Regions from separate parts of the Homo sapiens genome. Here region 1 is linked to region 2. The links are contacts of gene promoters, found by promoter capture Hi-C in human tissues and cell types (Jung and others, 2019). All regions are on one chromosome and are shown on one strand. The core of a region is centred on a gene start or on the middle of the fragment in contact, and the rest is flanking DNA. Distances in the headings are between cores, read along the strand shown. Region 1 has its middle 4.0 kb from the start of CFHR2. Region 2 holds the start of CFHR5 (complement factor H related 5).

Region 1 (3,653 bases), core at 120-2,619, 38 kb before region 2:
GTTTCTTTCTCTTGACGGAAATCCCTGGCCAGAACTTCCAAAACTATGTTGAATAGGAGTGGTGAGAGAGGACATCCCTGTCGTGTGTCAGTTTTCAAAGGTAATGCTTCCAGTTTTTGCCCATTTAGAATGATATTCGCTGAGGATTTGTCATAAATAGCTCTTATTATTTTGAGATGTATTCCATCAATACCTAGTTCCCTGAGAGTTTTTAGCATGAAGGCTGTTGAATTTTGTTGAAGGCCTTTTCTGCATCTATTGAGATAATCATGTGGTTTTTGTCTTTGGTTCTGTTTATGTGGTGAAGTATGTTTATTGATTTGCATATGTTTAACCAGCCTTGCATCCTAGAGATGAGGCCGACTTGATCGTGGTGGATAAGCTTTTTGATGTGCTGCTGGATTCCGTTTGCCAGTATTTTATTGAGGATTTTTGCATCAATGTTCATCAGGGATATTGGTCTAAAATTCTATTTTTTTGTTGCGTCTCTGCCAGGTTTTGGTGTCAGGGTGATGTTGACCTCATAAAATGAGTTAGGGAGGAGTCCCGCTTTTTCTATTGATTGGAATAGTTTCAGAAGGAATGGTACCAGCTCCTCTTTGTACCTTTGGTAGAATTCAGCTGTAAATCCATCTGCTCCTGGACTTTTTTTGGTTGGTAGGACATTAATTATTGCCTCAATTTCAGAACCTGTTATTGGTCTATTCAGACATTCAAATTCTTCCTGGTTTAGTCTTGGGAGGATGTATGTGTTCAGGAATTTATCCATTTCTTCTAGATTGTCTAGTTTATTTGCGTAGAGGTGTTTATAGTATTCTCTGATGGTAGTTTGTATTTCTGTGGGATCGGTGGTGATATCCCCTTTATCATTTTTTATTGCGTCTATTTGATTCCTTTCTCTTTTCTTCTTTATTAGTATTGCTAGGGGTATGTTAATTTTGTTGATTCTTTCAAAAAACCAGTTCCTGGATTCCTTGATTTTTTGAAGGGTTTTTTGTGTGTCTATGTCCTTCAGTTCTGCTCTGATCTTAGTTATTTCTTGCCTTCTGCTAGCTTTTGAATTTGTTTGCTCTTGCTTGTCTACTTCTTTTAATTGTGAGGTTAAGGTGTCGATTTTAGATCTTTCCTGCTTTCTCTTGTGGGCATTTGATGCTATAAATTTCCCTCTCTATACTGCTTTAAATGTGTCCCAGAGATTCTGGTAAGTTGTGTCTTTGTTCTTCTTGGTTTCAAAGAACGTATTTATTTCTGCCTTCATTTCATTATTTGCCCAGTAGTCATTCAGGAGCAGGTTGTTCAGTTTCCTTGTAGTTGTGTGGTTTTGAGTGAGTTTCTTAATCCTGAGTTCTAATTTGATTGCACTGTGGTCTGAGAGACAGTTTGTTGTGATTTCTGTTCTTTTACGTTTGCTGAGGAGTGCTTTACTTCCAACTATGTGGTCAATTTTAGAATAAGTACGATGTGGTGCTGAGAAGAATGTATATTCTGTTGATTTGGGGTGGAGAGTTCTGTAGATTTCTATTAGGTCTGCTTGGTGTAGAGCTGAGTTCAAGTCCTGGATATCCTTCTCAACCATCTATCTCATTAATCTGTCTGATATTGACAGTGGGGTGTTAAAATCTCCCATTATTATTGTGTGGGAGTCTAAGCCTCTTTGTAGGTCTCTAAGGACTTGCTTAGAATCTGGGTGCTCCTGTATTGGGTGCATATATATTTAGGATAGTTAGCTCTTCTTGTTGAATTGATCCCTTTGCCATTATGTAATAGCCTTCTTTGTCTCTTTTGATCTTTGTTGGTTGAAAGTCTGTTTTATCAGAGACTAGGATTGCAACCCCTGCTTTTTTTTTGCTCTCCATTTGCTTGGTAGATATTCCTCCATCCTTTTATTCTGAGCCATGTGTGTCTCTGCACGTGAGATGGGTCTCCTGAATACAGCACGCTGATGGGTCTTGACTCTTTATCCAATTTGCCAGTCTGTGTCTTTTAATTGGGGCATTTAGCCCATTTACCTTTTAGGTTAATATTGTTATGTATGAATTTGATCCTGTCATTATGATGTTAGCTGGTTATTTTGCCCATTAATTGATGCAGTTTCTTCATAGCATCAATGGTCTTTACAATTTGGCATGTTTTTGCAGTGGCTGGTGTCAGTTGTTCCTTTCCATGTTTAGTGCTTCCTTCAGGAGCACTTGTAAGGCAGGCCTGGTGGTGACAAAATCTCTCAGCATTTGCTTGTCTGTAAAGGATTTTATTTCTCCTTCACTTATGAAGCTTAGTTTGGCTGGATATGAAATTCTGGGTTGAAAATTCTTTTAAGATTGTTGCGTATTGGCCCCCACTGTCTTCTGGCTTATAGATTTTCTGCTGAGAGATCCGCTGTTAGTCTGATGGGCTTCCCCTTGTGGGTAACCTGGCCTTTCTCTCTGGCTGCCCTTAACATTTTTTCCTTCATTTCACCCTTAGTGAATCTGACAGTTATGTGTCTTAGGGTTGCTCTTCTCAAGGAGTATCTTTGTGATGTTCTCTGTATTTCCTGAATTTGAATGTTGGCCTGCCATGCTAGGTTGGAGAAGTTCTCCTGGATGATATCCTGAAGAGTATTTTCCAACTTGGTTCCATTCTCCCCGTCACTTTCAGGTACACCAATCAAACGTAGATTTTGTCTTTTCACATAGTCCCATATTTCTTGGAGGCTTTGTTCATTCATTTTTACTCTTTTTTCTCTAAACTTCTCTTCTCACTTTATTTCATTAATTTGATCTTCAATCACTGATATCCTTTCTTCCACTTGATTGCATCAGCTATTGAAGCTTGTGCATGTGTCACGAAGTTCTCGTGCCATGGTGTTTAGCTCCATCAGGTCATTTAAGGTCTTCTCTATGCTGTTTATTCTAGTTAGCCATTCATCTAATCTTTTCTGAAGATTTTTAGCTTCCTTGCAATGGGCTCAAACATCCTCCTTTAGCTCGGAGAAGTTTGTTATTATTGACCTTCTGAAGCCTACTTCTGTCAACTCGTCAAAGTCATTTTCTGTCCAGCTTTGTCCCACGATCTTTGGAGGAGAAGAGGTGCTCTGGTTTTTCAAATTTTCAGCTTTTCTGCTCTAGTTTCTCCCCATCTTTGTGGTTTTTATCTACCTTTGGTCTTTGATGTTGGTGACCTACAGATGGGGTTTTGGTGTGGATGTCCTTTTTGTTGTTGTTGATGCTATTCCTTTCTGTTTGTTAGTTTTCCTTCTAACAGTCAGGTCCCTCAGCTGCAGGTCTGTTGGATTTTGCTGGAGGTCCACTCCAGACCCTGTTTGCCTGGGTATCACCAGCAGAGGCTGCAGAATAGCAAATATTGCAGAACAGCAAATATTGCTGCCTGATCCTTCCTCTGGAAGCTTTGTCCCAGAGGGGCACTCACCTGTATGAAGTGTAAGTTGTCCCCTACTGGAAGGTTGTCTCCCAGTTAGGCTACATGGGGGTCAGGGACCCACTTGAGAAGGCAGTCTGTCTGTTCTCAGAGCTCAAATGCCATGCTGGGAGAATCACCTCTCTCTTCAGAGCTGTCAGACAGGGACATTTAAAGTCTGCAGAAGTTTCTGCTCCCTTTTGTTTAGCTATGCCCTGCCCCCAGAGGTGGGGTCTACAGAGGCAGCAGGCCTAGCT
Region 2 (3,600 bases), core at 172-2,671:
ACTAGAATCAATAGTGGAGACTACTAATAGCTCACAGGGACTTCTCTGGTTTCTTGATTGGACATAGCTATGTGCATTCCCATTGACTTCTGAACCACCATAAGTAAGTTTCCTCTTAGTGAGATCATTAGGCTGTTTCTGTAAATTTCCCCATTAAATGTTAAATTTCTCTCAGGCTGGGCACTTTGTTGCTTGCTTCAGCTAGTATCCTCTAGTCTTCTCTGATTGTTTCCCACTGTAATCTCTTTGTATTCAATAGGATCCTCGGGCATGGACCTTTCCAAGCTATAAAGTCACTCTTCTCCAGCAGGGGAGCAGAGCTTCCAGTCCACATAGCCTGCCTGCCCATCCAGGGTTCAACTTCTGAGCCACGGAATTGGGCTGCGAGACAGAGGTGGATGAAAGCATCCGCTCTCTTTTACTGAATTTTATGGAGACTTTCTGGAAAAAATATTTCCCAACATTATGCTGTTTGGCCAATTTCCAGAGACAACCAATGGTTACTTTTAAATTTTTATCCAGTTTTATTGCTGCCTTTTGGTTGGGAGTGAATATACCAAGACCCTCACATAGCCATTCTCGAAGTCCCACCTGAACAAAATGATTTTGAATTATAATTCTGTTCTTCAAACATTTCAGGAAACGTTACTTGGCAAAAATTATTCTTTTTTTTTTTTTTTTTTTTTTTGAGACAGAGTCTCGCTCTGTCGCCCAGGCTGGAGTGCAGTGGCGCGATCTCCACTCACGGCAAGCTCTGCCTCCCGGTTTTACGCCATTCTCCTGCCTCAGCCTCCCGAGTAGCTGGGACTACAGGCGCCCGCCACCACGCCTGGCTAAATTTTTTTTGTATTTTTCAGTAGAGACGGGTTTCACCGTGTTAGCCAGGATGGTCTCGATCTCCTGACCTTGTGATCCACCCGCCTCGGCCTCCCAAAGTGCTGGGATTACAGGCTTGAGCCATTGCGCCCGGCCAGCAAAAATAATTCTTGATTAGACCTTTTATAGTTTATGAAATATTAAAACTGTTAAGAAGGTACCTAATTCTTAGTGCCAGTTTTAAAAGGGAATTTACAACTACAAAAGTGATATTGTTGTATTAAGATGAGGACTGATGACTTGCACTTGCTTGCCTTTTGAAACAGCTGAACCCTTGGCTAGAAAAAAAAAAAAAACCCAGGGGGCCGGCGGTGGGGAGCTTCCTCTCTCCTCTAAACAGTCCATTTCTGATTGTTCCAAACTCAGAGACTCGGTGACTACAACAAGGAAATTGAACAGCAGTTATTTTGCTTAAATAAATATTACATAACGAGCTGAGAATATTATTGTGAAGACACTGATTAGATACTATTTGCTTATTTCACACAACCCTCCATGAACTTTGATGTTTTCCACAAAGGGCTTTACTAAACTAGCTTCCCCTTAGTACATTGAAATTCAAAGTCATGCTTGTAACTGTTAATGAAAGCAGATTTAAAGCAACACCACCATCACTGGAGTATTTTTAGTTATATACGATTGAGACTACCAAGCATGTTGCTCTTATTCAGTGTAATCCTAATCTCATGGGTATCCACTGTTGGGGGAGAAGGTAAGTTGAAAACAGATCCGAATATTTTAGTTCCTTTTCAAATGTATTTATTGATTGTGTGTGTGTATGCATACAAATATTTTTAAATGAATAAATAGCTGAGGATAATTTGAAGGGGTATCACAATATTCATCTATTTTCTGGAAATATTTTCCAACATGCAATTAGCAGGAAAATTGAATGAAATTAATTCTCTCCGTTCTCTAGTTTGCTAAGGGTAAATGGTCACCAAATAGATAATGTAAAGAGAAATCAAAGGAGAGAAAATCTGCTATAATAAAGATGACAAGGTGAAATATTAGTGTAATTCTGCATAAACTCTGCAATGCCACTGACTAGAAAAATCAACCCCAAAAGATTTGGCCACCTTCATTATGTTTTGAGAATTTTATTTTCATAGATTTGATAATTTACATTTTAAATGTTATTAAAATGAAGGAATTCTCATTTCAGCCTAATTATCATTCAACAGGGAAATATATTTTAATGAAACAATAGAAAATATTATTTTTATATATAAACCAGTGAACTGCCAAAAAATTGTTTCTTCTGAGCTCTTCCACAAATTTCAAAAGTGAAATAATATATCACTTCTTTATTAATACTATAAACTGATTCTTATAACATTATAAACTATCCCATTTTATTTCATGTGGAAATTAAAGCCACTATATCAAAAGGATTGCAAACAAAATCTCTAACAAGGTCTAGGATACTGATTAAACTATGTGTGTACGTGAAGTTTCAATCATTGTGCTATATACTCTTTGATTTCCAGAAAGTTTTTATTTTACTGCTTTACTGCTTTCTAATGTTTACAGATCTTTAAATTTTTTGAACACTTTCTTCTCAGTCCTGACATAAGAGAAAAATATGAACCATAAAATGCTTTCTTTTTAAGATATGCCCTTACAAATGTTGCAAAACATTATTTCTATGGGCCTAAAATTCATTTTATTTTGTTTTCACTTTTAGTACTGAGCTATAATCACAAGAGTGCGATTGCATGAGTGTATTTGATTTTTCTTAAGTCTGTGTTTATGATATTTATTAAGTGGCTTAAACATCTGTTACAAATGGCATTACACAAGGATTTCTAAAGGGGGGTGGAAGCAGAGGAAGATAAGTGAAAATTATGAGGATAATATGTAGAATTTTGACAATTCCTAACCCCACAAAACTTTCAAGCTTCAGTCCAGTCCCAGGATAAACTTTAGTGAAATTCTATTAAAAGTTGTCTAGGTGTTAAATGACCTGTAAGTGTGCATTACACTTTTGTTTTGGTGTCTATTTAGAAACTGGCCAAACAGCAGAAATAACAGACGAAAGCAACACTTTTGTACAAATAGAAAACTGCATGCTTCCAGTAGCAAAACATGAATCAAGCAATATATTGTGCTTCATGCTGTAGCAAAGAAGCTGGAAAGAATATGACAACGCCACCCACCCCTCACTACTACTTAGAGTGTCCTAAAAGAAAAGCAAAATGTAAATAGGCAAATAAATTGCAAGGTTTTATATATAGGTAATTGTCTGTGTGTGTGTGTGTGTGTGTGTGTGTGTGTACACTCATACATCACTTAATGATAGGAAAACGTTCTGAGAAGTGTGTCTATAGGCAATTTCGTCCTCCTGCAAACATCATAGAGTGTACTTACACAAACCTAGATTGTATAGCCTACTACCTAACTAAGCTATACGGCCTGTCACTCCTAGACTGCAAACCTGTACAGCATGTTACTGTACTGAATACTGTGGGCAACTGTAGCACAAATGTAAGAATGTGTTTACCTAAACATATAAAAGGTACAATAAAAATACAATATAAAATATTAAGAATGGCAGACTTGTATAGGGCTCTTACCGTCAATAGGGTTTGCAGGACTGAAAGTTGTTCTGGGTAAGTCACTGAGTGAGTGGTGTGCAAATATGAAGGCTTAGCACATTACCATACACTACTGTAAACTTCATGAACACTGAATACTTGAGCTAGGTAAATTTATTTTATTTAT

The links. The method cuts DNA at HindIII sites, captures the fragments that hold promoters and counts their contacts. A contact is called where the count stands out against the background at its distance.
Region 1: a fragment that was not itself captured here is called in contact with the fragment with the promoter of CFHR5 in region 2 in 1 of the 25 tissues and cell types used here (adrenal gland).

Annotation. Positions count from the first base shown.
Region 1 is chr1:196,937,952-196,941,604 of GRCh38, forward strand. No RefSeq gene overlaps it. Among named protein-coding and RNA genes, the nearest start is that of CFHR2, 4.0 kb to the right of the region's middle. The HindIII fragment of the contact is 3,455 bases long and covers 1-3,097 here.
Region 2 is chr1:196,976,135-196,979,734 of GRCh38, forward strand. It overlaps CFHR5 (complement factor H related 5), which reads left to right and starts at 1,422. Exons shown (of 10, transcript NM_030787.4): 1 at 1,422-1,588. The coding sequence starts at 1,531. The HindIII fragment of the contact is 10,428 bases long and covers 1-3,262 here.